Linked DNA regions of Homo sapiens: regions 2, 3, 4, 5, 6 and 7 are each linked to region 1. The links are contacts of gene promoters, found by promoter capture Hi-C in blood cells and fetal thymus (Javierre and others, 2016). All regions are on one chromosome and are shown on one strand. The core of a region is centred on a gene start or on the middle of the fragment in contact, and the rest is flanking DNA. Distances in the headings are between cores, read along the strand shown.

Evidence for each region. Contacts are between HindIII fragments. The CHiCAGO score rates a contact against its expected background, and 5 or more counts as called.
Region 2: a contact is called between a fragment that was not itself captured here and the fragment with the promoter of MSH4 in region 1, in 5 of 17 cell types (non-activated CD4 T cells, monocytes, naive CD8 T cells and 2 more). The highest score is 9.1, in non-activated CD4 T cells.
Region 3: a fragment that was not itself captured here is called in contact with the fragment with the promoter of MSH4 in region 1 in 3 of 17 cell types (naive CD4 T cells, non-activated CD4 T cells and total CD4 T cells); the score reaches 5.4 in naive CD4 T cells.
Region 4: a fragment that was not itself captured here is called in contact with the fragment with the promoter of MSH4 in region 1 in 4 of 17 cell types (non-activated CD4 T cells, naive CD8 T cells, monocytes and 1 more); the score reaches 8.2 in non-activated CD4 T cells.
Region 5: a fragment that was not itself captured here is called in contact with the fragment with the promoter of MSH4 in region 1 in 5 of 17 cell types (non-activated CD4 T cells, naive CD8 T cells, activated CD4 T cells and 2 more); the score reaches 11.4 in non-activated CD4 T cells.
Region 6: a fragment that was not itself captured here is called in contact with the fragment with the promoter of MSH4 in region 1 in 4 of 17 cell types (non-activated CD4 T cells, naive CD8 T cells, monocytes and 1 more); the score reaches 10.1 in non-activated CD4 T cells.
Region 7: a contact is called between a fragment that was not itself captured here and the fragment with the promoter of MSH4 in region 1, in 3 of 17 cell types (non-activated CD4 T cells, naive CD8 T cells and naive CD4 T cells). The highest score is 8.0, in non-activated CD4 T cells.

What each region holds. Positions count from the first base shown.
Region 1 is chr1:75,794,976-75,799,249 of GRCh38, forward strand. It overlaps MSH4 (mutS homolog 4), which reads left to right and starts at 1,907. Exons shown (of 20, transcript NM_002440.4): 1 at 1,907-2,254. The coding sequence starts at 2,011. RABGGTB (Rab geranylgeranyltransferase subunit beta) reads left to right here. Exons shown (of 9, transcript NM_004582.4): 9 at 1-111. The HindIII fragment of the contact is 6,934 bases long and covers 1-3,423 here.
Region 2 is chr1:77,735,459-77,739,732 of GRCh38, forward strand. USP33 (ubiquitin specific peptidase 33) reads right to left here. Exons shown (of 24, transcript NM_201624.3): 5 at 3,807-3,959; 6 at 598-700. Among named protein-coding and RNA genes, the nearest start is that of USP33, 22 kb to the right of the region's middle. The HindIII fragment of the contact is 3,222 bases long and covers 138-3,359 here.
Region 3 is chr1:77,708,704-77,712,977 of GRCh38, forward strand. It overlaps USP33 (ubiquitin specific peptidase 33), which reads right to left. Exons shown (of 24, transcript NM_201624.3): 21 at 3,044-3,152. Among named protein-coding and RNA genes, the nearest start is that of ZZZ3, 28 kb to the left of the region's middle. The HindIII fragment of the contact is 8,441 bases long and covers 1-4,274 here.
Region 4 is chr1:77,686,872-77,691,145 of GRCh38, forward strand. No RefSeq gene overlaps it. Among named protein-coding and RNA genes, the nearest start is that of ZZZ3, 6.4 kb to the left of the region's middle. The HindIII fragment of the contact is 1,611 bases long and covers 1,659-3,269 here.
Region 5 is chr1:77,662,461-77,666,734 of GRCh38, forward strand. All of the region lies in intron 1 of ZZZ3 (zinc finger ZZ-type containing 3), which reads right to left. Among named protein-coding and RNA genes, the nearest start is that of ZZZ3, 18 kb to the right of the region's middle. RefSeq lists an enhancer at 1-143. The HindIII fragment of the contact is 7,724 bases long and covers 1-4,274 here.
Region 6 is chr1:77,638,578-77,642,851 of GRCh38, forward strand. It overlaps ZZZ3 (zinc finger ZZ-type containing 3), which reads right to left. Exons shown (of 15, transcript NM_015534.6): 2 at 2,945-3,078; 3 at 2,807-2,869; 4 at 872-1,025. Among named protein-coding and RNA genes, the nearest start is that of ZZZ3, 42 kb to the right of the region's middle. The HindIII fragment of the contact is 3,645 bases long and covers 1-3,620 here.
Region 7 is chr1:77,615,682-77,619,955 of GRCh38, forward strand. The region is part of intron 5 of ZZZ3 (zinc finger ZZ-type containing 3); the gene reads right to left. Among named protein-coding and RNA genes, the nearest start is that of ZZZ3, 65 kb to the right of the region's middle. The HindIII fragment of the contact is 5,876 bases long and covers 1-4,274 here.

The DNA.
Region 1 (4,274 bases), core at 657-3,156:
AGTTGATGTAAATTGGTTTGTCAACAAGAATGTTAACTGATGAAAGTGGATAGAACCCATACATGAATTAAATGATGCACAAAATAAATGGCTGTTGAAATTTGGAAATGATTGATAGGTTTGAATATGGTTATTCTGAATTGGTCACAGACTTAGGTTAAATGGCAATCTACCATCTTAAAATGGGGTTGTGATTCGGACTGTCCTTTTTTTTTTTTTTTTTTTTTTTTTTTTTAGCATTTTATATATCAGAATTACCCAAAGAAGGAGTTGTCTTCAAATAAGGAAACACTAACGGGTAAGTTGATGGTCACCACAGTATTTTTTTGCACCTGTCTTTTTCTTAAAAAGCTAAAATGGGTACAATCACTCTTTTTTATTTTTTTGTGACAGAATCTCTGTTGCCCAGGCTGGAGCGCAGCAGCACGATCTCAGCTTAACTGCAACCTCCGTCTGCCGGGTTTAAGCAATTCAGCCGCAGCCTCTCGAGTAGCTGGGACTACAGCCGCACACCACCATGCCCGGCTAATTTTTATGTTACTTTAGTACAGACAGGGTTTCACCATGCTGAGGAGCTGGAGACCAGCCTGACCTTGTGATCCACCCACCTCGGCCTCCCAAAGTGCTGGGATTACAGGCGTGAGCCACCACGCCTGGCCTAAAATGAGTACAATCACTCTAGGGGTTTACAGTTTTGGTGAAAGTGAGGTATTCTCTATTTTTAAATTTTATTTTTTAGAGACAGGGTCTTCCTTTCTTCCCCAGGCTGGGGCATAGTAGTGCAATCACAGCTCACTGTAACCTTAAACTCCTGGGCTCAAGCAGTCCTTCCACCTCAGCCTCCTGAGTACCAGGGTCTACAGGTACCTGCCACCATGCCCACTATGCCCAGCTGATTTCTTAATTTTGGGGACAGGCACTGTCTTCCCCAGGCTGGTCTCCGGAGGTGAAGTAATCCTCTGGCCTCAGTCTCCCAAAGTACTGGGATTACAGGGAGGAGCCATCGTGCCCGATCTGAAAATAAGGTTTTTTGATGGAAATTGAGATTTTTCTCAAGTATGTTTGGAATGCCCTGTGCAATAATCATTCCAAGAACAGAGATGTTCTTAAGGACTGTTGTCACTGCATGTGGGTAAACCGCTGTGCATAACTGGTTTATTGAGATACTCAACAGTGGCAGGATTTCAGTAGTGGTGTAAATTAATGTCTTCTAATAGCTTCTGTATGGCAGTATCCAGATAATTTCGTCATGTTTAATCCATGGATCTCTGGTAAGTTGGTACTATTGGCCTTATTTAAGGAATTTTCTAAAGGTCACCACTGCAAAGCTGGAGTTTGAACTTCTAGTGTGCCATTAACTGATTTATATGTTAGAAACCACAGTACTAGAAATTGGTAGATGGGGAATTGTTAACTGAGAGATCTTACCCAGTCAGTCTTTCCCTGTTTCCTACTCTACTATGCACACAGCCATGTGCATACTATCTTTTGATAATATAACTATCTTTCCTATATTTGGTCACAAGATCAACCTTAGGTGGGTTATGCTGTGTGAGCATTACACGTTCTCATTGTGTCAAAGGCACTGGGTGTACTGTGTTGGGTGGTTTCTACATTTAAAGATAAGCTAGTGTGCTTGGACGTGTGGGAAATGCATGTAACATTTGCAATAAGGGAGATTGGGTGCTGTGAGAATAATGGGGCTAACAAATCGGGTGGTCATTGATGGGCCTTGCAGAGTTCTGGTCAGTCTGATACCTGCAGGCTGAGGATGTTCCAGTGAGGTTCATGTGGAAAGTGATGGGTTTGGGAATGGCTGGAAGCAGGGTCATAGACCTGAAGTACGTGAATCCATGTGGAAAGCTGAGCCTGCCTGCGCCTGCGCAGTGCAGCTTAGTGCGTCGGCGCGCAGTTCTCCCGCCCGTTTCAGCGGCGCAGCTTCTGTAGTTGGGCTACTGGAGGGGTCGCTCAGAAACCTCATACTTCTCGGGTCAGGGAAGGTTTGGGAGGATGCTGAGGCCTGAGATCTCATCAACCTCGCCTTCTGCCCCGGCGGTTTCCCCGTCGTCGGGAGAAACCCGCTCACCTCAGGGTCCCCGCTACAATTTCGGACTCCAGGAGACTCCACAGAGCCGCCCTTCGGTCCAGGTGGTCTCTGCATCCACCTGTCCTGGCACGTCAGGAGCTGCGGGCGACCGGAGCAGCAGCAGCAGCAGCCTTCCCTGCCCCGCGCCAAACTCCCGGCCAGCTCAAGGCAAGGAGTGATTGGGTGGAGGAGTCTCCTTGAGGCTAGAGGCCGGCAGTTCATGGAGGCTCGGGGGCACGTGGGTGGTGGTTACCACAGTGAAGTTGTGATTTGGTTGGGGCGTGAGATCTGAGTGCCCTGGGAATTTGGTGAGTCTGGGTGATTAGAAGCCTTGACTTTTCAAATTGGTTCTATTGCAAGACCTTGACTGTGGATGGCTCAGTTCTGAGAAAGGCTGAAGTATCCCATATAACGTCCCTCACAGTGTCTGACAAATGACAGTTTGTGCGTGAGTTTGCTGATAGAAGTTGTGAGCTGATCTTTGGCTGCTGAATTTAATTCTCCAAATCCTGCTAAGGTGGGATAAAATAGATTAAATTGAACATTTCATCTAATTCAGGGAAAATAATATGTTTAGTATTAAAAGAGTGGGCTGGGCGGTGGCTGACGCCTGTAATCCCAGCACTTTGGGAAACCAGGGTGGGCGGATCACTTGAGGCCGGGAGTTCCACACCAGCCTGGCCAACATGGTGAACCTCCCACCCCCATCCCCTATCTCTACTAAAAGTACAAAAATTATCTGGGTGTGGTGGCACGTGACTGTGGTCCCAGCTACTCAGGAGGTTGAGGTGGGAGGATGGCGAGTCCGGGAGGTCGAGGCTGCCGTGAGCTGAGATTGCGCCACTGCATTTCAGCCTGGGTGACACAGTGAGACCCTGACTCAAAACAAACAAACAAAAAAGATGCATGTCCTTCAAATCATTTATTATTTTGTTAGTCTCTATTCATGACAAAGCATCACCATTTTTCACACACGATTGCAACACAATGGTAAAGTAACAAATACCAAATCCAATGGTCATTTTTCAGTTCATCTCATGTGACCTTTCTGCTGTATTTAATGTTCTTAATTTCTTTATTTTTAGAAACAGAGTCTCGCTATGCTGCCCATGCTGGTCTCAAACTCCTGGTCTCAAGTGCTCCTGCCTCGGTCTGCCCAAGCATTGGGATTACAGGCATGAGCCACTGCTGCCTGGCCTATGTTTAATGTTCTTGACTGGTCTTCTCTTAAACTCTTTTAATTTGGCTTCCTTGATTCCACTTGCCCCTGTTTTTCTGCTACCTCCCAGAGAATTGCTGTGCCCACCTTTGTTCCCAAATTATGGGCATGTCATTAAAGCTTTTTTTCCTAGGCCACTTCTACCTAGATGTGACTATCTCCACAGCTCAGATCTCATCTACACTCCAGACTTACTTCAGACTGTCTTCTGAAGTTTTTATTGATGGACTAATGGATACCTCAGGCTGACTATATGATTAATTAAATTCCTCTCTGCACTTTTTTTTTTTTTTTGAGACAGAGTCTTGCTCTGTTGCCCAGGCTGGAGTGCAGTGGCATGGTCATGACTCACTGCAGCCTCAAATTCCTGGGCTCAAGCGATCCTCCCACCTCAGCCTCCCGAGTAGCTGGGACCAAGGCATGTGCCCCTACAGATGGCTAATTTAAAAAATTTTTTTGTAGAGACAGTGTTTTCCTACGTTGCCCAGCCTGGTCTCGAACTTCTAGGCTCAAGCGATCCTCCTACCTCAGCCTCCCAAAATGCTGGGATTACAGGTGTGAGCCACTGCACCTAGCCCTCAAACTCTTAAGTGTTCTTCCATCCTTGTAGCTTACTTACTGTACCACCAGAGTTATGTGGAAAATGATCTTATCATGTCCCTTGCCACTTAAATCAGTAGACCTGTATCTGCAGGTAAAAGATCAAACTCTCTAGAAGGATAGCCAAAGCAATTGGGATCGGTTTCTAATCTTTACAGATTTATCCCTCATCATTTAATATTTACCCTGCTTTCTAACAAAACTGAGCTACTTGCAATTCCTTTAAAGCAACATGAATGTTCACATTGTCAGTCTAATCCCTCTCTTCATCAGATGCTTGGTCACCCACTTATTTATCAGTAATGATAACATTCACTAATTTATATGCACCTACTTTGTTCTGGCTTCTTACTAGGCAGACGGTATCTT
Region 2 (4,274 bases), core at 499-2,998, 1.9 Mb after region 1:
AAAACTGGGAAATACATAAAATATTTATAACTTATCTCTAGTCATGTTAAGCTTAAACCAAAGTGTTAATTTCCAGATAATTATCTAAATATACATTCAATGTACCACTAGTATCAATTATAAAACAGAAAATTTTAAGCTTATACTAAGAACAGTGGGCCTAAAAGAATATGAAAAATCCAAATAGACCGGTTCTCAATTTAGGGGAAGAAGGGAGAAGTGTATCACCTGATTCTTTTTCCAAATGTTTTCCCCGGAACTTCTGCTAAGGGAATACCTTTATACCTAATACCTCCCCATCACTGACAATAGAAAAATGAGAAACACTGTTCAAACAGACCTCAAAAGGCAAGTTAAACAAAAAGATCATAAGGCTCAACTGCAAAAGAGTAAGTAGGATCCTACCTTTGGTAAACTGACACCAGAGAAACCAAAAGTTTGTTTTGCAAATAAAATTTTACTAGGCCAAATTTCAGAGTCCTTTTGTTTTAATTATCAAGCCCATTTTACCTCCACATTTTGAAACTTTTACATTATATGGTTTTCTAAAGAAATGGGCAGTGCCATACAAAGAAGCGTTACACAGGATTAATTTACCTCTGGCCCTAAGTTCATCTTCTTCATCCGCTTCTATATCCAGATCATCAAATACGGCAACCAGAGGAGTTTTTAATGTTGTATTACTGGGTATTTTAAAATCCTTGATAACAAAAAAAGATAGCACACTTGAACAAATCCTTAAATTTAAAAAAAGTTTTAATTGTAACTTATATAACATCTATACCATAAAAATTATTGAGATGTTATTTTAATAGTGGAACCATAAGAATTTGTGGTATTAGCAATTAAACTTACATTTATATTTTGAAGGAAATAAAACCCTAGGGTAATAGCATGTCAGTCCCGCTTTATTAACATATATATTTGAGTTAAAAAGGCACTTTTTACAACCGAATTTTCTGAATTAAAACTCCACAATAACTGCAATTATGTGACAGTAAACCATAGCTAAAAAGATCTCCGAAGGATACTATCCTACACTGTCTTCTCAGATCTCATTTTCAACAGGGAAAAAGGCAAAAGTTTTTCATCATAACACATTATCTATAGACTTCTACAATCTCTCCTGATACTTATTACTGTATTTACTTTGCACACTTTTTTTTTTCCGAAACAGAGTCTCACTCTGTTGCCAGGCTGGAGTGCAGTGGCACGATCTCAGCTCACTGCAACCTCCACCTCCTGGGTTCAAACGCTTCTCCTGCCTCAGACTCCCAAGCAGCTGGGACTATAGGTGCATGCCACAACGCCCAGCTAATTTTTGTATTTTTAGTAGAGAAGGGGTTTCACCATGTTGGCCTGAATGGTCTTGATCTCTTGACCTCATGATCCGCCCACCTCGGCCTCCCAAAATGCTGGGATTACAGGTGTGAGACACCACACCCGGCCTGCACACTTTTACGTATATTAAATAGTTCAAGCACTTACTTTAAATAATAATATTCTAATATTAATTTCCAACAATTGGCTTGACTCAGAGGTTGCAACTGATAACCTGTTAGCCAAATGCTAGTAAACACTTTAAAAAAAAAAACGAAAAAAACTTTGAGCTAAAGTTTAAAAAATTCGGAGACGACAAATAAAAATCAAAATTTGAAAGTTCTCTTGTAATATCAGAAGATTGAACTACAATGAACCAACATTCAGCAACACCCAAACAGAGAAGGAAACTGAATAGCAGAAAGAATTTAGCATGTACTCTGGTTCTCCAAGTTATTATAGCCTTACTTTACCTCTAAAATGCAGGCATATGCACTAATTCCCAACGATTTTACTTTCCTGACATCTGTAGAGACTGGACATTTGAGTGGACTTCATACTTTCATTTTGTTTTCATAAAGTAATTGCTTTTAAAAAGATACATGCTCACTACAAAATATCTAAATACACAGAAGTACAGAGGCTTAAATCACCTGAAATTTTACTATCTAGAAAAAATGTCTATTTGAAAAATCTTATTAATATTTGCATGGCCTCCAATATTTTACTATTTTGCAAATATCCTGTGGTAAACTGGATTTCAACAGCATATAAGTTTTGGACCACTAAAGAAATCTATCTGAACCACTGTTTTCTTCTGAATAATTTCTTCAACAATGGGATCATAAGGAAGTTGAATGAAATTAAGTTTATGCCTTTTATGTGTTAACATATTTACAAGTCATCAGAAAATTATTAACAAGCCATCAGGAAAGTATCAGTATACTTATTCTATCAGATTCAACATTTATTAAAGTTTGTAATCTTGATCTTTTCTGGCAGAAATGGCAACAGATAGCTTATTTAACTTACTTCTCTAGTAAGTGATGCTGATAGTTTTGCCTTTATATATTATTAGTTCCTTGTGTGATTAAACTTTAGTCATAACATTACACTTTTTTCTTTTTTAAAACTTTTTCTACTTATTACCATTCAGCTATCTTCAGTGGGACAAACTTTTGTTAATAATGTAAGAGGATTCAACGAAACGGCCATTTTCATACTATCTGGACTTTTGAAAAAGACTAAACATGTTTGTGAATGATAAATAGGTATAAGTGGGAGAAACAGTAATGGTTATAATTAACTAGAGCCATTCAACTGAGAAACTGAAAATGCAAGAAATTATTCTTTGACTAAAATCTAGCCATCTTTCATGTGTAAGGCAAGCAAATTTATTATCACAAATATCTACCATAAGAATGTGATACAAACATACAACAGAAAAACCTGACAGTTGGTATCAATGAACAAGTACAGAAATATGTGATTTCTATAACACACATGAGGAAAAAAACTTGCTGTTAATCAAATCTGATCAAATTCTGATCAACTGATGATCTGATTAAGAAGCCAACTATTCTAAGTTAATTTCCTTTTTCCTATTTTTCTATGACTTTAAGAATTCTGAAAATTAAGTGATAAATTCTGCAAGCAAACCCATGTGTTTTCTAAGTCTCTTGATCCAAAAGGAGAAAAATCTTTTTTTCTTTTTTTTTTTTAGATGGAGTCTCACTCTGTCACCTAGGCTGGAGTGCAGTGGCAAGGTCTCGGCTCACTGCCAGCTCTGCCTCCCAGGTTCACGCCATTCTCCTGCCTCAGCCTCCAAAGTAGCTGGGAATACAGGTGCCCGCCACCACACCCGGCTAATGTTTTGTATTTTTAGTAGAGACGGGGTGTCACCATGTTAGCCAGGATGGTCTCGATCTCCTGACCTCGTGATCCAGCCGCCTTGGCCTCCCAAAGCACTGGGATTACAGGCGTGAGCCACCGCACCCAGCCCAAAGGGAGAAAAATCTTTAACCCAAAGACTGATGCTAAGCTTTATTATATTCTACTTTGTTGTCAATAATAAGTAAAATGTTCACAGTAATACAAAGGGGATGGAGGGGAGGAGAGAACGGGGAAGAGAGCTGAATTAGTAACTGCCATATGCTATCAAAGAAGGCCCACCACCTTTCTTGAAATCAGACTTACCAGAAAAAGATAAAGACTACTTGAGTCATTTAAAAAAAAAAACTTCAAAAATTCATTAGGGCCTTTTCCATCTTCAAACAGGTGGGCTTCAATCTCACCCTAATCTAGCACTCTAAGCAACACAAGAAAGGGGAGTCTGAGTGCTTTATTTGAGAGAAAAAAGGCACATTACAGAAATTTTCAAAGTACAGGTTAGGCAGTATTCCTTTTGAAAATTTCAGCTACATGACAAATTCTGAAATTATTACCGGAATGTTTTACAGCTTAACTAAGTGGATCTAGATTATTACCTGGACACTGTTTTCTTGTATTTGGTGAGGTTGTCTTACATGAGGCAATGAAGGCTGAGTTCCTAATTTCCTATCCAAAAATACTTCTTTGCTGCAAGCATAACACCATACTCGAAGAGTGGTAAGGTTCACAGTTAGATAATGCTTTGTCTCCTATATAATTTCACAGTAGAGGGAAAAGAGGAACCAAAATTACATATACTTGAAAAGACTTCTTCAAAAGATAACAGAAGATAAACTGCTTGCCTTTGATGAGTAACAATATACTCAAAAGCTAATTTAGAACATGAAAAAAATTCTTTAGATAAACTTCTAAGGTATAATAAACAGTAACAACATCTAAGCCTACTCTAGAAATTACTCTGCCATTCTCCCCTCACTATTCATTATACAAAAAGATAAACGCAAGAGTGTAAGACCTTGCTTTGCAGTCTACAAATAAATATAACACAAGAAAATAATTAACAA
Region 3 (4,274 bases), core at 1,585-4,084, 1.9 Mb after region 1:
AATAGTTTGTTGTTTTATAAAATGTCCCTCAATTAGGGTTTGTGACTTTCCTCATTTGAGATTCAGGTTATCCACCTGTGTACCAAAAAGTGGTGCCATGTTCTTCTAATTGTATACTATTCTGGCACATAATTTTGATTTTGTTTCATTTCTTTCTTTTTTTTAAGATATAAAGTCTCGCTATGTTGTCCAGGCTGGTCTTAAACTCCTGGGCTCAAGTGATCCTCTTGCCTCCGCCTCCTGAATATCTGGAACTTACACACCAGCACACCCAACTAATTGATTTGTTTCATTTCTAATGATGCTCATTTTATCTTCATCGAGATGGTGTCAGGATTCTCTGCTGAAAGTTAGTCTTTTCCGTTTGTAATTAATAAGTGTTTAATGAGGGAGTTAAGTAGAAATGATATAAGCATTCCAATCCTCATCCTTTCCATTTATTCATTTATTTATTTATACCAATATGGATGCAGTATCTCCTATTTTATTTAATGAGGTTATATGTTACTGTAATTTATTTTGAGGCTAGGCACAGTAGTTTATGCTTGTAATCCCAGAGCTTTGGGAGGCAGAGGCAGGAAAATCACTTGAGGCCAGGAATTAGAGACCAGCCTGAGCAAGACAGCAAGACACTGTCTCTACAAAAAAATTTATTTTTTAAATTAGCTACACATGGTGGTGTGCATCTGTAGTCCTAGCTACTCGGGATGCTGAGGCAGGAGGATCCCTTTAGCCTAGGAGTTCAAGGTTACAGTGAACTATGACCAGCCACTGCATTCCAGCCTGGTGACAGAATGAGACCCTGTCTTTTAAAATAAAATTTAGAAATATATAGATATATATAGATACATATCTATATATCTATATTTTATATACATGTTTAATTTTAACATTCTGTAAATATAGAACATATTCTCTCTCTATATAAAGCTACATATAGATCTATCTAGATAGATCTATATATATATATGTCTCTGACAGCTAGGTATGATCAATCCTACTGGAGTAATCAATAGATTGGAGTAATCAATCTATATATAGATATAGATATCTATATAAACATATAGACATATATATATCTGAGAGCTAGGTATGATCAATCCTACTGGAGTAATCATTGATCCAAGGCACTTTCAGTGAGAGTTAAGAAATATCAAGTTTCTATACATGCATACACATACACACACACACACACACACACACACACACGTCCATATTTACTCAGCTATTATCATGAGTTCACAAAGATACCCATAACTCCAATCCAATAACAACACAAGGTACAGTTTAGTTTTCTCCTTTTCCATATTTGAAACTTCCTCATCTGACAATGAGAAACTTGGTACTCATTACACGTATGTCTTGATCATTTTCCCATATGGAACCAATCGCTCACTGCCACTACCACCACTATGCTGTACCCTTGTAGCCACCAATGTCAGGCCAACATGGGCATCCCTTCTTATCCTGCCTGGGCTCTAACACCCTTGACTGGGCTCATGCCACTCACTATACAGAAATTCTCTTTACCCTCTGTGGTTATAAACACCATTCTTGGCCACTGCTTCTCTCCCACCCACAATGTGGTACCCTATTCCACTTTTAGATTTCCTGAAAGTCAGCAGTGGTCTTCTTGACCTTCACTGCCCAGTCCTTTCAATAGTAATGTACATCTCTCATTCCCTACATTCTGATTCTATTCAAAATACTTAGAATAGCTACTATTAATCAAATCCTGACAGACACAGTCATTAGCCATTATTTAAGCATTGATGGAAAAAACTATTTTTAATATTCAACTAAAGTTTGCTTCCTTAGATTCAAGAAGCAAATGAAGCCCATGTAAAATAAATAAATCTATACCTGCATCTTTTTTATGTAAAATTTACTTTACTTTAGGCAAGGGCACAAAAAAAGCCCTGAATCAATGAGGAAAAGCAGGTGTGTGTGTGTGTCTACACATGTGCAGGAAATGAATAATACAAAACATACTGGACATCTTATTTTGATCTGCTCAATATCTTCTCCACTGCTTTTACTAAAAGAATCCCAATTTTTTTCTTGCAGTATTACTCCTCCCCATAATAGTGTCTCAGTAGATTTATGAATAAACGTGTCTCTCAAGTGATCCAAATTTTCAATTGTCTTAAATAGTTGGAGTTATGTTACTGACAACAGTACTGCAGAGACTTCTTGCTACGTCAATAATTGGAAGGGTACTAGTCCTTGCCCATAAAACCTGGTTGTTCATGCTTTTGATTTTATGACCACACTTTCTGTTGCTTACAATTAAGGGACACCTCATAATATGCTCAGTTTGTGAAAAGTGAGTATATTTATAAGCCCAGGAGTCCCTCAAAAAAACAAAAGAATATTATATCTCACAAAAGAATCAAAGTAGTACATGCAGTCTGGATAGACTACAGACAACACTAACTTAAGGAAACCTGTAATTTTCCATTTCAATAAGATTTCTGCCAGTGCCAATACATTAAAAAAAAAAAAAGTATTGTCAATCCATAAAAGCAAAAACCCACAAAGGGGCCAGGAGCAGTGGCTCATGCCTATAATCCCAGTACTTTGTGGGGCCAAGACAGCAAATCACATGAGGTCAGGAGTTCGAGACCAGCATGGCCAACATGGCAAAACCCTGTCTCTACTAAAAATACAAAAATTAGCCTAGCGTGGTGGGGCATGCCTGTAGTTCCAGCTACTTGGGAAGCTGAGGCAGGAGAATTGCTTGAACCTAGGAGGCAGAGGTTGCTGTGAGCCGAGATTGCACCACTGCACTCCAGCCTGGGCGACAGAGCAAGATTTTGTCTCATACACACACACACACACACACACACACACACACAAAGGGAGAACATAACTCAACAGAACTGTAGTGAACTGCCTGAGGTCATTCACCATTATGCACCTAGAACACTTGAAATCTATTACAACTCTTTCATCTAATCATTTTATTAATATCATATAACTCTGATAATTGTCAGGTCTTCATCTTTATCCTAGATCAATTTGAAAAGCATCACTTTTTTACCCGAATAAAAATTTCCAATTCAGTTTTTCTTCTTTTTTCAATTTTCTCCGCCTCAATTTGGCAAGTATGACAAATGTACAGATGGTTGACAGCTGGTCCTCCACCATACCTAAAGCATGAAAAATTTAAGAATTAATGTTCTAGGAAGTTTGTTTCTAACATTTAAGTCAGTGGCCAAATACCCAGTAAAAATAAATCCTCTTAATAAAATTCTCAAAGTAATATAAAAATCAAAAATCATATAAGGACTTGTTATTATGTTTATTAAGGTCAGTGACTTTATCAGTTTATTGCTTAACCTGCTTTATCTATATTTCAACTTTCCCTTATTTCTGCTCCAAAATGTTAGAGCCAACAACAAACTAAAAGAAGTGGTTTCAAAAAGTATCATACAACATATAAATCTTAGTTACACATCACAGTCATAGTCAAGTTTTCATCAGATGAAGGCCTCCCCTGGCCTCTCAAGTAAGAAGCATTCAATGTATGAATTATTTTTAATATTTAATTAAAGAAAACATAATTAGTAGGAAAACTGTGGTGGAAAATGTTTTAAAATAAAGGTCAGGAGTTGCGAGACCAACCTGGCCAATGTGGTGAAACCCCGTCTCTATTAAAAATATAAACATTAGCCAGGCATGGTGATGTGTGCCTGTAATCCCAGGTACTTGGGAGGGTGAGGCACAAAATCGCTTGAAACTGGGAGGCAGAGGTTGCAGTGAGCTGAGATTGCACCACTGCACTCCCGACTGGGCGACAGAGCGAGACTCCATCTTAAAATTTTAAAGTTTACGATGTTAAGGCCAGGCCCAGTGATGCATGCCTGTAATCCCAATACTTTGGACTTTGGGAGGCCAAAGCAGCCACATGGCTTGAGCCCAGGAGTTCAAGATCAGCCCAGGAGTTCAAGATCAGCCCAGGCAACATGGCAAAACCCCATCTCTACAAAAAACACCCCAAAATTAGCCAGACATGGTGATGCACGCCTGTGATCCCAGCTACTAGGCAGGCTGAAGTGAGAGGACCACTGGAGCCTAGGAGGTCGACGCTGCAGTAAGCCAAGATCGTGCCACTGCACTCCAGCCTGGTTGATGGAGCAAGACCTTGTCTCAAAAAAAAAGAAAAAAAAATTTACAATTTAAGAGTAAGATACTCAATTGTGTGAGTATATACATATGTAAAATTTTAGTGTGGGGATATGCAAAGTATTTTAAACAAGGTACTTAAATTA
Region 4 (4,274 bases), core at 1,214-3,713, 1.9 Mb after region 1:
GGCCGCCCAACTGTCTGGGAAGTGAGGAGCGCCACTGCCCGGCCACTGCACCATCTGGGATGTCAGGAGCCCATCTGCCCGGCCCGCACCGTCTGGGAAGTGAGGAGCACCCCTGCCCCGCCGCCTCACCTTCTGGGAAGTGAGGAGCACTTCTGCCCCGCCCCCATCCCGTCTGGGAAGTGAGGAGCACCTCTGCCCCGCTGCTCCACCATCTGGGAAGTGAGAGCACCTCTGCCCCGCTGCTCCACCGTCTGGGAAGTGAGGAGCGCCTCTGCCCTGCCCTCCCCCCTCCACCCCCCCCCCACGCCCCCCGCCACCCCACCGTCTGGGAAGTGAGAAGCACCTCTGCCTGGCTGCTCCACTGTCTGGCAAGTGAGGAGCGCCTCTGCCCAGCTCCCGCCCCGTCTGGAAAGTGAGGAGCGCCTCTGCCTGGCCACCCAACTGTCTGGGAAGTTCGGAGCGCCACTGCCCGGCCACTGACATCTGGGATGTCAGGAGCCCATCTGCCCGGCCTGCACCGTCTGGGAAGTGAGGAGCGCTTCTGCCTGGCCCCCACCCCCTCTAGGAAGTGAGGAGCGCCTCTGCCCAGTCCCCCCATTGTCTGGGAAGTGAGGAGCGCTTCTGCCTGGCCCCCACCCCGTCTAGGAAGTGAGGAGCGCCTCTGCTCGGCCCCCACCCCATCTGGGAAGTGAGGAGCGCCTCTGACCGGCCCCCACCCCGTCTAGGAAGTGAGGAGCACATCTGCCCGGCCCCCACCCCGTCTGCGAAGTGAGGAGGGCCTCTGCCCGGCCACCACACCGTCTGGAATGTGAGGAGCAAGTCGGGGAAGTGAGGAGGGCCTCTGCCCGGCCGCCCCGCCCCCCACCCCTCCTTCCATCTGGGAAGTGAGGAGCGCCTCTGCTGGCCGCTGTGCAACCCTCCAAGTGTGAAGTGACAGCCTTGTGCGTGCTCTTTCTGCCCTCCCCAAGTTTGCATTTTCGACATTAAAGTTTACTTTTTTTTTTGAGACGGATCGCTCTGTCGCCCAGGCTGGAATGCAGTGGCGCGATCTCGGGTCACTGCAAGCTCCGCCCCCCAGGTTCACGCCATTCTCCTGCCTCAGCCTCCCGAGTAGCTGGGACTACAGCCACCCGCCACTACGCCCGGCTAATTTTTTGTATTTTTAGCAGAGGCGGGGTTTCGCCGTGTTAGTCAGGATGGTCTCGATCTCCTGACCTTGTGATCCGCCCACCTCGGCCTCCCAAAGTGCTGAGATTACAGGCGTGAGCCACCGCGCCCGGCCTTAAAGTTTACTTTTTAATTAAAAGTTTTAAATTGGAGAATATACAAAAAAAAAGCGCAGGTCACTATGAGAATATGTCCATATACCCAAAAGTACATACATGTTCTAAAGTACTTCTGAGGAAGCAACATCCAATCTGAGATGAAGTATGCATTCACCACTTCTAAAGTGTGAATGCATTTAGGAGTTGGGCAAAGGTGGGAAAAACACTCCAGAGAAAGAGAACAGTTGATGCAAAGCCCCCTACATGGGATGGAAGTTATTATTTATTTACTACTACTACTTACTATTGCCTGAAAGAAACCACTGTTTTTTTTCCCACGTATATAAAATCTAAGATGAAGTCATATATCCTAATTTCTTTCATTGGATCATAAGCTTTTTTCTATGTCATTAAATATTCTTCAAAAACCCCAAGAACTGGGCCAAGCATGGTGGCTTACACCTGTAATCCCAGCACTTTGGGAGGCCAATGTGGGAGAATCACTTGAAGTCAGGAGTTCAGGCCTAGCTTGGGCAACATAGCAACATCCCATCTCTATAAAAAATATTTTAAAATTAGCCAGGCTTGGTGGTACACACCTGTACTCCCAGCTACTCTGGAGGCTAAGGCAGAAGGATTACCTGAGCCAAGGAGTTTGAGGCTGCAGTGAGCTATGATCATGCCACTGCAGCCCAGCCTGAGCCAACACAGTGGGACCCCATCTCTAAAAAATAAAAATAAACCCTGATAAATGATTGCATAATTTATTTAACCACTTTTCTGTTTGGGGGCACTATCATGGCATTATGATTGGTTTAATAAGTGCCCTCATGTCCAAACGCAGTATATGTCCAGATCTTTTGGGGGCTGAATCTCTTAAGATTTGGGTGGTTGAATTAGTGGGAAGTGAAAGGAGAGTCTAGGCTTGGGTGACCACGGAGATGGAGGTGTTATTGATGACCACAGAAAATACTAAAGTAGGAGCAAGTTTAGATGGGGTAATGATGTGTTTCATTAGAGTATACTGAGTTTCAGGCAACCCCAGTACATCTAAATGAAGAACCCAAGAGTCAGTTAGATACATGTCGAGGATGCTGGCTTCAGGTCTGAGCTGGAAGTACAGGTTTGTGAGTCTTTAGCTTAGAAATAGTTAACTGGAACCTGAGGTTTAGATTTGGTTACCCAGGGAGAGCAGAGTGAGAAAAACAAAATCAAGAACAAAACCCTGAGAAGCACTGACATTGTTGAGGTCAAGGAAGAAAGTAAAAACTACAAAGGAGAAATGAGGGACCAGAACTGTAAAGGAAAACTGAACAGTGGTAACCAAAAACCAGTGAGGAAGAAATTTGAAAATGGAGTCCTAAATGTGAACTTATTAGACAAATTTACCAGGAACCTATTTTGTCTCATACATTATGTTAAACACAAGGGGGTGAACAAGACAAAACCTTTTGGTGCCTACTGTCTGGTGGGGAAGACATTGCTGTACATCACCAAAAAGGCCATATTTTTAATAACTATACCTTGCTTCTTTCTAAAAAGACATGTAGCTTACCCAAAAAAATCAGTATAATAGGTAAAATACAATTCAAAATAATTAAAATGGGAAATTTAGGGCAAAAAGAAAATAGAAACAAAAATGATGCACAAAAATACATGCTTGGTTGGATGCACTGGCTCACACCTCTGTAGTCCCAGCACTTTGGGAGGACAAGCTAGAAGGATTGCTTGAGCACAGGAGTTCAAGGTCAACCTGGGCAACATAGTGAGACCCCATCTCTACAAAAAATAAAAATAAATTAGCCAGGTGTGGTGGTGCATGCCTGTGGTCCCAGCTGAGCCTGAGGTGGAAGGATTGCTTGAGCATGGGAGGTTGAGGCTGCAGTGAGCCATGACCATGCCACTGCACTCCAGCCTAGGCAACACTGCACAACTGTCTCAAAATAAATAATTTAAAAAAACAAAAACAAAAACCATGCTCTAAGGTCCTGAACACTTGCTTTAAGCTTTGTAGCAGATGTTGTAACAAGGAAAAACAAAATCAGTTATAACAGGTTCAGTATGCCTAGGGTAACAAATATTTTGCCCACAGGAGGCATTACTACTCCAGGACTAAGACTAAAGATGAATTTCTCTCAGTTTCTCACAACGACAACATCATGTGAAGAGTATCCTTAACAGCATCTTTCTAGTAAATCCAACAGTTAATTTTATAGGACTCCTTATTACAACATCTCTCAGTCTAGGCTGAAAGCAATTCTGTGGGCTTGGAAGAGGTAAACAGCATATCCTAGGTAGGAAACTCTTATAGTCTGTGTGTGTGTGTATGTGTGTGTGTGTGTATGTGTGTGTTTCAAATTAGCATGACTTCAACCCTAAAAACCAGCATTTCTGCGTAAATTTCCTAACAAGGTTGTTCTCCTATGTTACTGGTTATCATACTCAAGAAACTTAACATTGATATATTACCTAATATCTAATACATATTCTATATTCAAATTTCCTAAACTGTTCCAATATTGTTCCTTAGATATTATCTTTTCCAATCCAGGGCCCAACCTAGGATCACACATTGCATTTAGTAGTCATGTTCTCTTAATCTTCATCTAGCCTTTTTCTGTCTATCATAACACTAATTTTTTAGAATCCAGGCAAGCTGGGTTTATAAAATATGCCTTTAAAAAAATTATCCTGGCTGGGCGCGGTGGCTCACGCCTGTAATCCCAGCACTTCGGGAGGCCGAGGTGGACGGATCACCTGAGGTCAGGAGTTCAAGAGCCGCCTCACCAACATGGCGAAACCCCGTCTCTACTAAAAATACAAAGAAAAAATTAGCTGGGCATGGTGGCAGGTGCCTGTAATCCCAGCTATGGGAGGCTGAGGCAGGAGAATCGCTTGAACCTGGGAGGCGGAGGTTGCAGTCAGCCGAGATCATGCCATTGCACTCCAACCTGGGTGACAAGAGCAAAACTCCATCTAAAAAAAAAAAAAAATCCTGAGGGCTGGGCA
Region 5 (4,274 bases), core at 984-3,483, 1.9 Mb after region 1:
CATGAAGCAAAAAAACTTAAGATATCACAAATATGGAAGGGTGGGAAATTTGAACATACCCTGTAGTGACTAGAATTGGAAGTATCAGTGTACTCACCCTGAATCTAACCACAAGAAATTCAAACTGAGGGACACTAAATACCTGGCCTAATCTCTTAAAAAATGTCAAGAAATTTGAGGCCAGGCCGGACATGGTGGCTCAGGCCTGTAATCCCAGCTACTTGGGAGGCTAAAGCAGGAGGATCACTTGAGTCCAGGAGGTCAAAGCTACAGTGAGCCGAATTCATGCCACTACACTCCAGCCTGGATGACAAAGTGAGACCCTGTCTCAAAAAACAAATACATAAAATAAAGAAATGTGAGGCCAGGTGCTGTGGCTCACGCCTGTAATCTCAACACTTTGGGAGGCCAAGGCAGGAGGATCCCTCGATCTCAGGAGTTGGAGACCAGCCTGGATAATATAGTGACGCTCCGTCTCTACAAAAAAACAAAACATTAGCCAGGCATGGTAGCACGCACCTGTAGTCCCACCTATTCGGGAGGCTGACGTGAAAAGATTGCCTGGGGCTGGCAGGTGGAAGTTGCAGTGAACCATGATCACGCTACTGCACTCCAGGCTGGGTAACACAGTGAGACCCGGTCTCAAAAAAAAAATTAATAAAAAAAAAAATTTGACTAACTGTTCCAGATTAAAGGAGACTGGAGAGACATGAAATCAAATGCAATGTATGATCTTCGATTTTAAAAAGCTATAAAAATAATTATTAGGATAATTGAAAAAATTTGATTGTGGACTGTAAATTAGATAATGGTATTAATGTTAAGTTTCCTAATTTTGATCACTGTAACTGCAGTTAAGAGAATATCTTAGTTCTCAGAAAAAAAAAGTCTGGTGGTATCCTGGATCTAATTCTACCCTGTAGAACAACTCATTACAGCCCTGCATTACCTGAAAACAACTGTCCCCTTCCCTCCTTCACTCATTCCTGTCAAGTCTTCCTTCTCCACAATAAGCACTCTCAATTCCTTCAAAGGTTCTCATGGGTTACCCTCCTCTTGACATATCTATCTTTTCATTTACTTTTCTTAAAGTGTAGCTTTCAGAAATAAGGCCAACATTGTAAATGTGTCCTAACCAACATGGAATGAATATCATATCCCTTATTATGGACAAAATCCTATTACTGCAGCCTGGTACTTCATTTGTTTTTTCTTTTTTAAGCAACTCACCAGTTGGATGTCTGAGACTATATAAAACTAAACTCCTAATAATATACAATCAGTAAACCCTATTTTTTTTTTTTTGAGACGGAGTTTCGCTTTTGTTGCCCAGGCTGGAGTGCAATGGCGCGATCTTGGCTCACCGCAACCCTCCACCTCCCGGGTTCAAGCGATTCTCCTGCCTTAGCCTCCTGAGTAGCTGGGATTACAGGTGCGTGCCACCACGCCTGGCTAATTTTTGCATTTTTAGTAGAGACGGGGTTTCATCATATTGGTCAGGCTGGTCTCGAATTCCTGACCTCAGGTGATCCGCCCGCCTCAGCCTCCCAAAATGTTGGGATTACAGGTGTGAGCCATGGCACCCGGCTAATAAACCCTACTTATTCTATCACCAAAATGTCTTGGAAAAAAAAAAAAACAAACTATCTACTCTTTCTGTTCTATTGTTATTGCTCCAGCTCAGGCCATCATCATTCTATTTAAACAACTGTAGTAGCCTAATTAATCTCTCATTCCAATTTACTCTTTATTTGCCCACAAATATATCTGTCTTAATAAACACTGTCCTGAATCTGATTTTTCAGTACCTTAAAGAAGAATGGGGAGGGAAAGAAAGGAGATGACTTTCTCCCCTCTTCAATTCCTAGAAAACTCTTATTCCTCAAAGGCCAATTCAATGATCCATCAGAATTAACTACTCTCTCCTTTGCTCCCATAATGCTTAATAATCCTATCATAAAATTACAATGTATAGTTTGATATATCTATATTCCCCATTCAATTATAGGCTCCTCGAAGGAATAGAGCAATACATTTTTTATTCTCTTAGTACATACAGTGCCTTAACATTAATTGAACAAAATTTTACTCATGTAATTTTTTCTATCTGAATTCCATATTTTTTTAATTCCACACTTTTAAGCAGCTCACACTATAGGTTTCTGCCTGTAGTTTCAGACAGAACTTACAAGTTGTTTTAGTTATCCTTGCCAGCTAAATTGTTCTGACATTTTATAAGCACAACTGTACATTTATTCAAAACATTAATGAAAATATTAAAAATGGACAACAAAAAGTACCTTTTTAGATACTTCTCTCAAAGTCTGACATTAATTCCTTCTAACAGTATTTAAGAAAGTTTATTTTACACTATTAATGAAATGTTCTTAATGCTGATGAGCTAAGCCTGTACTTCTCTGCCTCTTCTCCAAGGCATACCTAGGAAAACAATCTCCAAAACTACTGGTTTCCTTTTTAAAAATAAGACCTTATGCTGTTTCTAGTCTTCTGGCATACTTTTTGTTACAACAAATTAACAAAAGCTATCAATACCTCTCAGTTCCTTAATGTCTTTAAATGATCTAAAACCTGTGCTATCAGCCAGACAGAAAATGGATTCCTGGAATCCAATCAAGTGGTGAAATAATCTGGGTGAGGTTTACAAAACTTGATCTGGCAATAGAGTTAAAAAGCAATTACAAAACAATTACAAAAGGTCTTAAACTTCAATTCAGAAGAAACCAACATCAACTTAGAGTTCCACTGTTACCATACAGACAATTTTTACTGACAGTTCATTATGTCCATCTGTGACATGAGAAAAACCACCTAGACAAAGACAGCTTCCAAGGCCAATGTCAAGCTGATAAACAGCCTGTCAAGAGATGGTAACTGAACTGTGGACATAAAGTATGTCACAGGAATCTCAACTTGCTGAAGACAGCAAAACTGTTCCCGAAGGTAAGTGACTGCCCAACGTCCATGATTAATTAGAATATTGAAATTACGTATATCAAACTCATGATACTAATACTGTGTGGTTTAAAACTATCCTAAATATTTTTAAGTTCCTATAGACAATGATAGTTTCTAAATTTAAAATAGTAACTGACTTCACGCTTATGATTTTAAGTTTAAAAGTGTATGAATATTTAGCTTGGTTAATAAGAATACTGGAATGTTTAAGAAAATTTGTGATTCACTGTCTCATTCATTAAATTTAAAATTTTTATATTTACCAATTATAACTCAATAAAGCTAGAGAAAATATAAAATTTTAAAGTTTTAAAGTATTTGGGAAGCCAGGTGTGGTGGCTCATACCTGTAATCCCAGCACTTTGGGAGGCCGAGGCGGGCGGATCACCTGACGTCAGAGTTCAAGACCAGCCTGGCCAACATGGCAAAACCCAGTCTCCACTAAGATAAAAAAATCAGCCAGGCGTGGTGGCACACGCCTGTAATCTCCGCTACTCAAGAGGCTGAGGCAGGAGAATCGCTTGAACCCAGAAGGCGGAGGGTGCCGTGAGCCGAGATTGCGCCAGTACACTCCAGCCTGGGAGAGACAGCGAGACTCCATCTCAAAAATAAATAAAGTATTTGGGAAAATCCTACTTGTTGAAATTTACTCCACAAGGAATAGTGCTTAAAACTAAAACAGTATATCAAACGTATATACGGAATGTAATTAAGTTAAGCAGCAGTAGCAGTGGTAATAGCTAATATTCACACTGCAATGTTCCTAGGGCTCACAACCTTGTTCCAACACTTTACAGTATAAATTCATGCATTCTGGCACGTTGGCTTATGCCTGTAATCCCAGCACTTTGGGAGGCCAAGGCAGACAGATCACTTGAGGTCAGGAGTTTTAAGACTAGCCTGTTCACCAACACAGTGAAACCCTGCCTCTACTAATAATACAAAAATTAGCCAGGTGTGGTGGTGCACGCTTGTAATTCCAGCTACTTGGGAAGCAGAGGTGGGAAGATCGCTTAAACCCAGGAGGTAGAGGTTGCAGTGAGCCAAGATCGTGCCACTGCACTCCAGCCTGGGCGACACAGAGCCAGACTCCATCTCAAAGAATAATAATAATATAAATACTTATATGGACTAAACGTGTGTGTCCCCATTCATGTGTTGAAATCTCGCTCAATAAATAAATAAATAAATTCAGCAAGTATTCACTGACCATCTCCCATGAACTAGGCATCATTCCAGGCTCTAAGAACTGCAGCAGAAAAAACATAATCCCATCCTTCATGGATATTATATTCTTA
Region 6 (4,274 bases), core at 548-3,047, 1.8 Mb after region 1:
AAAGTGGTACAGTTTATTTTGGGAATTGAGCAGCTGGCAATCTTCCATCACACCAATGGTTTAGCTGATATTTATTATCATAATATTTAGTTTTATTAAGTGAAAAATTTTTAGTAAACTGGTCATGATACCAGAATATATTCACATAGACAAACCAAAGTAAAAGGAAAAAAGAGCAAATGCAACTGGAAAGTGTAACCAATATGATTCTTTTTCTAGTTGTCTAAACATAAACTATTTAATAACGTTGAGGCCATGTTTGTCATATAATTATTTTAAGACAATACCTCAGCAGTGCAATTACCACCATATCTATAATGTTAAAAGTAGAAGAGTAAAACCTGGCTGGTAACCCACCCATGCAATTCAACTTAAGGTTCTTAAATAGTCACCTCTTTGAAGTCTGGGAACTCTATTATGCATTGTTTTACATAAAGAGACTTCTTATTTCTTTCCCATTAAGAGAAACTGATATATGACAGATGGTCGGTAGGTAGGTAGGTAGGTAGGTAGGCAGGCAGATAAGCGGACAGTCAGACAGACAGACAGACAGATAGACAAAAGTAAATGAACACACACTTTAAAAGACGATCAGGAAAAGGAAGTCAAGGAATTTCACAATGCCTCCTGAGTAAAAAATTCCAACATAATCAGTCACTTCATTTATACCCCATTGAAAAAAAAAGGGAGGGAAATATTTCATTCCTAACCCATTCCCTGCAGCTCCATACTCCTATAAACAGCCAGCCAAACTACAAGTTGCCACCCAGAGGATGTATGGAAAAATAACAAGTCTCCCCATCTCAAAAAAAAAAAAGAAGAAGAAGTCAAACTATAGCTGTCTTCACTACTGCAAAACTAAATAACTTACCTGTACAACCAAAGATCTATCATTGTGGAAATATAATCTCTTTTCCTTATATCCTGAAGGAGTTGGAGCTATGATCTAGAATGGAGCTTAAGCATCAGGGTTTCAGACTCTCTCAGCTTCAGCCATGAAGAATACTAGAACCTCCTAAATTTTTCTTTAAAATAAAATAATGAAAAAAAAGGATTAAAGAAGATGATGAACTTATGCTAATAGATTTACTCCTTCTATAATAAGAAGAAATACAGGTACAGAAACTGTTCATAGTGACATCTTTCATGCTTCTCGGTAACTCTGTAGCCTCAAGAATACTAAGAAACTGAAATAGGATTTTTAGAAATCAACAAAAGCAAACCAAAAAGATACTAAAATATACCAAATCCTTACAACTCAATATTAGTTTGAACTGAGTCAAAATGTGACTTGCTCTTTTCTAGACATTGCTCTAAGGGAGTATTTTTTTTTTTTTTTGCGGTGATAAAGGTTGCCCTTGATAGCATTTCTCATAACAGAATTTATAATATCATCTCGTACTCTTGTCCTAGAGGACTTCCCAAATTCTCGACATCAAGTATACATAACCATTTAGGTTATGCATAAAAGAATCACACAAATAATCAACCAAATCTTCTATACCTATAGGAAAACCTTGATGCTTATTCAAGTGCTACAAAATTCAATTACAAAAGGACATTTCTATTATTTTTGGCATATGTATTTTTAACAAGAACAAGAACAACAAGGATTTTCCGGTTTTAGTACCCAATTAGCCAGACAATTTAATTAATCTAATTACATTCCATTTCTTAGAACAGTCTGGTTAATTTTTACTATATAATAATTTATTATGATATCCTTTTCAAAGAATGTACAGGCCAGGTGCAGTGGCTCGCACCTGTAATCCCAGCACTTTGGGAGGCCAAGACAGGTGGATCACAAGGTCAGGAGTTCGAGACCAGCCTGGCCAACATGGTGAAACCCCATCTCTACTAAAAATACAAAAAATTAGCTGGGCATGGTGGTGTGCGCCTGTAATCCTAGCTACTCAGGAGGCTGAGGCAGGAGAATCGCTTGAACCTGGGAGGCAGAGGTTGCAGTGAGCCAAGATCACCCCATTGCACTCCAGCCTGGGCAACAAGAGCAAAACTCAGTCTCAAAAAAAAAAAAAAAAAGAGAGAATGTACAATCTGCTAAATGGGTTACTATGAGTGCCCATCTGAAAACAAGGAAGAGGACTAAGAAAACGACCAGCAGATGTTTATGACAGAAACTGTCGCTTTATTATAAGCATAAAACTAGATATTATAATAGTGATACATTTTGGGGAAAGCATTACAACTTAAAGACTGATATAATTACAAAATCTTGTAATTACTAGGCAGACTTACTGCATAATAAAAATAGGTTACTGCTCTAGTCAGCTAGAAAGAGAATAGGGATAGTAATATCTAATATCTATAGATGCCACCTCTCCCAAACATGCCCTGGAAATGCTTTAAAAAGCACAAGGTAGGAAAATTGTCTAATAACCATTTAATACTACAGTACATTAAGAAATGTTCTAAGTTAACATGGGGAGAAGCTCAGCGAAAACATGATCCTACATAAAGTAACCCTTGACTTGAAAACCCACTCTTCTTATAACAGACTCCAAGTGACAACTCCTTTGTACCAAACACTGAAGCCTTTCACAAACATGGCAAAACATTACGTTTTACAGTGTGTGATGGTAGTAGCAATCATCAAAAGCAAAGAACATCTACAACTTAAAGTATATCTCTGAGCATACTGGAATGTGCCCTAGTAGCACTCTATCAAGTTCTAATCAACCACATAACTACTCTATTTGAATAGAGTTCACTATAGGAAGATTATCCACTACGATATTTAGCAGGCAAGAACATCTGCAACTGTTATTTTCACAGAACTGATACTTACAGCTGAGCTCTATCAGCATTAAGATAGACAGGATCCTGCAGTGTTTCTTAAAAGCCTGATACACTGAAAAAGAAACTTCAATCAATTACTTCTAACTAAACCCCACATGGCCTTAATTAAGATTACATTATTTCTTACCTTTTAAAAAGCGTTTTGCCTAGTATTTGATCCCCATGCGTCTGTATTTATCTGTCATCACTGTTAATTGTCCATGTTACACTGAGACTTCAGGTATTATTTATTTATATGGTTGTACTAGAATAACTTGATATCTGTGAAGAGAAACCATAATATAGTCACTATAGATGTGTTACCGTTTACAAATTTGTGAATAAAATTGGTAATATTTCCAAACACTTATATAGCACACTTCATTTTCTACTAAACTTCACAAGTAATTCCTTACATTTAGCTGTGAAATATGTGTCTTCAACAAACTAAGATGATTGGCTAACACTTCCAAGTTCTTCTCAGGGAGTACCCACATACAAACATTCTAAATTTAATTCCATACTTAAACCCTTACAAATTGAAGAGCTCCTCAGGTTCCTTTTCTTACCACCAATATAGACATATGTCATTTTCCTTAAGTCTACAATTACTCTCCATTAATAGAAAAAGTACTTTTTTGTGTGTTTTATATTTTAGGGAATAAATCTATAATTAAAAATGAAGTAAAAAAAAGATAATGACGGTCCTTTAAATGTCACTTTAAACATCTGATATCTTTCTTAAGTAATTTTGGAAGTAAACAGAAAATAAATGTTATTTAAAATAAACTGACATGTAGGTATACAAACATTCCTTAAAGGTAAGCTTCTTAAAAACAGACTTGGTTGACGGTTACAAGTTGGAGAAATAGATCTACACACTTACATTGATGACCAAAAGCACCGTACAGAATTTTAAGTCATTTTAACCAGTTTATCAGTGAAAAAAAGGAGCTACAAAAGAATGTTCATTCATACATATCAAAGAAAGCAGCGTATGAATGGCATTCCAAAATGTTTCATCATGCTGTACCACTCCATTACACAGTAAAAAGAGTACAAATCTACGTGGAAAATACAGATAACCTAGCAAGGCATGGTGGCTCATGCCTGTAATCTCAGCACTTTGGGAGGCCAAGACAGGAGGATCCCTTGAGCTCAGGCATTCGAGACCAGCCTGGGCAACATAGTGAGCCCTCTTCTCTAAACAAAACAAAAAAAAAAAAAATGAAAATTAGCCAGACGTGGTTGTGTGTGTCTGTAGTCCCAAGTACTTGGTTGAGGTGGGAGGATCATCTGAGCCCCGGAAATTGAGGCTGCAGTGAGCCATGATCGTGCCACTGCACTACAGCCCAGGCAACAGAGTAAACCCTATCTCAAAAACAAAATTTTTTTTAATGAAAATGCAGATAACCTTACACATGCTTTCTGGATAAAACTTGTTATTAGGGGTGTCAACCATTCAGATATTCTCAGTG
Region 7 (4,274 bases), core at 1,143-3,642, 1.8 Mb after region 1:
ATATCCTTTAAAAGGAACTGCCACCACTGAGGATATTCTGCAAACTGTTCCAAAAGTTGAGTTCCAAATATATTTTGAACAACAAGGATTGAGTCCAGTAAAGTGAGGTACTGATTCTTATAAAGAGGAAAACATTCTATTTGGTTTTATTTTTTAGATAAAACTTGGTAATTCAGTAGTGCTACCTTACAGGCATATGCTACCTAATGTAACCACTACATAATTCCTGTGTGTCAAAGGGCCCCCCCACCACACACACACACACAAAATTAACTAGTTTTTCTTTTTAATCACAATTTTAAAAGGAAATAACCACAATGACATGGAACACACTGTGTATAATGTTTATACACATTATACACTGAGTTATTTTTATCTAATAATTTGTCTCTTAAAGAATTCTCATTAATTAGTCAGACACGCTTCTTACCCCTGCTCTTGAGGAAATCATGACTCTTTCCCCCCTCAATCGTTGATTTTTCTTTAAACGCCAAATGTTCATACTTATTATCATTAGTGTTATTGGCTTCATAGTTTCTGAGTATAAAGAACATTAACAAGTTTCTAATGCCCAAGAACACTCTGGTGCTCTTCTTAGGAACACCTGCCACATTTAAAATGTCAGTGCAGTTTTAAAAGATGACACCATTTGCTTAAAAGCAACCCAAGTTATTTTCAAGACTGTTAAGTAAATGTCCATTGAACCCTGTAGTTTCTCTAAATGTGTTACTAGGATTCTGTAACCTATATACTTCAAGAGAATCTGGCACTGTGTTTAAAAACTTCCCCTAAATGCTGAAGTAAAAAATTATTGAGCAATAGGTGGCTTTTCCTTATTAAAAACAACAATTTTCACACTTTTTGCTCTATGCATCTCTACTGGTAAAAAATTAAAATTGTCAGCCGGGCGCGGAGGCTCACGCCTGTAATCCCAGTACTTTGGGAGGTCGAGGTGGGTGGATCACGAGGTCAGGAGTTCAAGACCAGTCTGGCCAATATGGTGAAACCCCATCTCTACTAAAACAAATACAAAAATTAGCCGGGGGTGGTGGCACCCACCTGTAGTCCCAGCCCAGGAGGGAGACTGAAGCAGGAGAATCGCTGGAACCCAGGAGGCGGAGGTTGCAGTGAGCCAAGATCGCGCCACTGCACTCCAGCCTGGGAAACAGAGTGAGACTTCGTCTCTAAAATAAATAAATAAATAAAATAAAAATAAAAATAAAAATTGTCAGGCATGTTCCCAATATATGTACACTTACTTATAAACTATATGTTCTACTATACTTAAATGCATTACAAATATATGTTATAATGTATTTCAAAAAACCCAGACATTCTTAAAATGAGCAAAAAACCTCTAAGTAGTATTTTCTTCTATCTCCCAGTGGATGATCTTGTGCATACCCTGGTATGCACTAATCCCCCCACGCTTTAGTTTCATCTGTCTGTGGTAAAAATCACATAAAATTTACCTTTTTAACCATTTTAAAGTATATAATCCAGTGGCACTTAGTACATTCACAATGTTGTGCAACCATCACCATTATCCAGTTCCAAAACATTTTCATCACCCCAAAAGGAAATCCTATACACATTATGCAGTCAGTCCTCATTCTACCCTTCCCCGACCCCCTGGGTAACCATTCATCTGCTTTCAGTCTCTATAAATTTGCCTCTTCTGGATTATTTCATATAAATAGAAACATATATGACCTATTGTGTCTGGTTTCTTTCATTGGTACAATGGTTTCAAGATTCATTCATATTGCAGCTTCATTCCTTTTTACAGTTGAATACAATTCCATTGTATTGATATACCTTGTTTTGTGTATCCATTCATCAGCTGATGGACACTTGAACTGTTTCTACCTTTTGGCTATTGTGAATTGTGCTGCTGTGAACATCTGTGTACAAGTTCATGTTTAAACACCTATCTTTCATTATTTGGAGTATACATCTAAAAGTGGAATTGCTGAGCCAGACGTGGTGGCTCATGCCTGTAATCCCAGCACTTTGGGAGGCCCAGGTGGGTGAATCATTTGAGGTCAGGCATTGGAGACCAGCCAAGCCAACACGTGAAACCCTGCCTCTACTGAAAAAAAAAAAAAAAAAAATTAGCCAGGCGTGGTGACAAGCACCTGTAGTCTCAGCTACTTGGGAGGCTGAGGCAAGAGAATCACTTGAACCCAGAAGGCGGAGGTTGCAGTGAAACAAGATTGCACCACTGCACTCCAGCCTAGGTGACAGAGCAAAACTCCATCTCAAAAAATAAATAAATAAATGTGGAATTGCTGAATCATATGGTAATTCTATGTTTAACTTATTGAGGAACCACCAAACTGTTATCCACAGTGGGTGCACCATTTTACCCTGCAACCAGCAATGTATTAGTGTTTCCATATCTTATTTTATAAACAATTGACCAAGAGTACAATTTTACCCAAAAAGCTAAATGGTCTATAATGGGCATGTTTTGGCAGCCTACCAACCTGCCCACATACCTTTTTGCTGGAAGATATACCCTTGCTCTAGAAGAGTAGACCAATGCAGCCTTTTTTTTTTTTTTTTTTTTTTTTTTTTGTCCAATAATCCCACCCCTGACAATTGATAATTCGGCCAGGGATGGACTGACCAAGGAAGCCAATCTATTGGATAGTCAAGAACCAGGTTCTCTTTAGAGACTGTGACGAGGCTCTGGGAATAAAATGTCATATAAAGTTGGGATCATGACAAGCACAGTAGGAAGCCAATGCCATCTGCAAAATGAAATTTCAGGGGAAAGGAAGAAAGTGTGCAAAAAACATTAATAAAATAAGAAAAACTAGCCTGTACTGTACAAAGACAAGCAGTGGTGAGAGAGTATATATAATCTTGAATACTGACAGGTTATAATTTCATGAGGTCTGCCTCGAATTTGTTTTCTGATCATGAGTATTCGCAAGATTGTTTGCTATCATTTATTTAAAATAAACCCCTTTGTTGTTTGAGATACTCTGAGTGAATTTCTGATTCCTGCAACAAGCTGCAAACAAGTTCTGATTACCTTAACTTTATTGTCCTTGTTAGTTTTAAATAGCTTAAAGAAGTTATTTACTAGTCACTGAATTTAAGTAACTTGTATAGGAAATTTTAAAACAATCTGTCAGTGTTTTTTAATCACATTATTATAACCTTCAAAAAATGGTCTTTTTCCCCTGAAGACTCAAAGATTCTTATGGGAACAGACCTTAAAAGATGACCTTTTCAATTTATCCCTAGGTTCTGCTTTTCTAAATATATGCCACAGAATTCTTGAGTTTTCTCTCTTAAAATAGAAAGCTAAATGCAACTATATTATAGCTAACAGAATAAAAATTTCACAATCATCTAGAAAAAAACCCCTGACAACCAGTCAGATCAAGATTCCCTTGATATTTCCCTACTCCAGAATTTTAGATTACCTATTCTATGAAACAATCCACTGTAAAATCTAAAATGTTTACCTCTTATTCTAGTATTACAAATACATAAAAGTTTCATATAACAGAGGCAAGTTAGTAACTTCTAGTTAAAAACTAATACTGTAACAAACAACATACCTCAAATATAGCCCAAACTACATGTATGTTAAACTATATGTAGGCTATCATTTCATAGTAACTGCAAAGACACAGCACATGTCATTTTAAATTAATTGTAGCATCTACTCAAAATTATGAGTTTTTAACCAAGAAAGTTGAGTACTATCCTCTACTGAAAATCTTTAATAGAACAGACACACATAAAAAGGCAAGGACACACATTTTCTTTCAAGTCCTTCAATTCAGTAAAGACAACCACAATCAAATTCTTAACCACTCTGTAGGCTTCTAATGCCTACTGGCAAAACTCTAGATTGTAAAATTGTATTTACAATCATATAAAACATTCTGATAATACCAAACCTAAATTTATTTTATAACACAATGACTTCTCTTTGGGAGTCTGGTATTATTAAAAACTGAACTTACATTTCTTATATGACCATGTAAAAACATGATTTTACCACTAGGTAACAAACTCGGACAACTCATCTGTAAACATGAGACTCCTCTTATATGTCTCCACATAGCTGAGTTAAATTAACCATATGAATGATGATATCGCATATTTTTCTTTCGAAAATTTAAATGTTAAAAAATCACTAACACTATATAAAATTCAGAATCTTGAAAGTCAAATAATGGTATTTAAATTTTTCTACTATGAAAAGCATGCTAAATTTTTCTCTGACATTTTCAAAGCAGTATAATGCT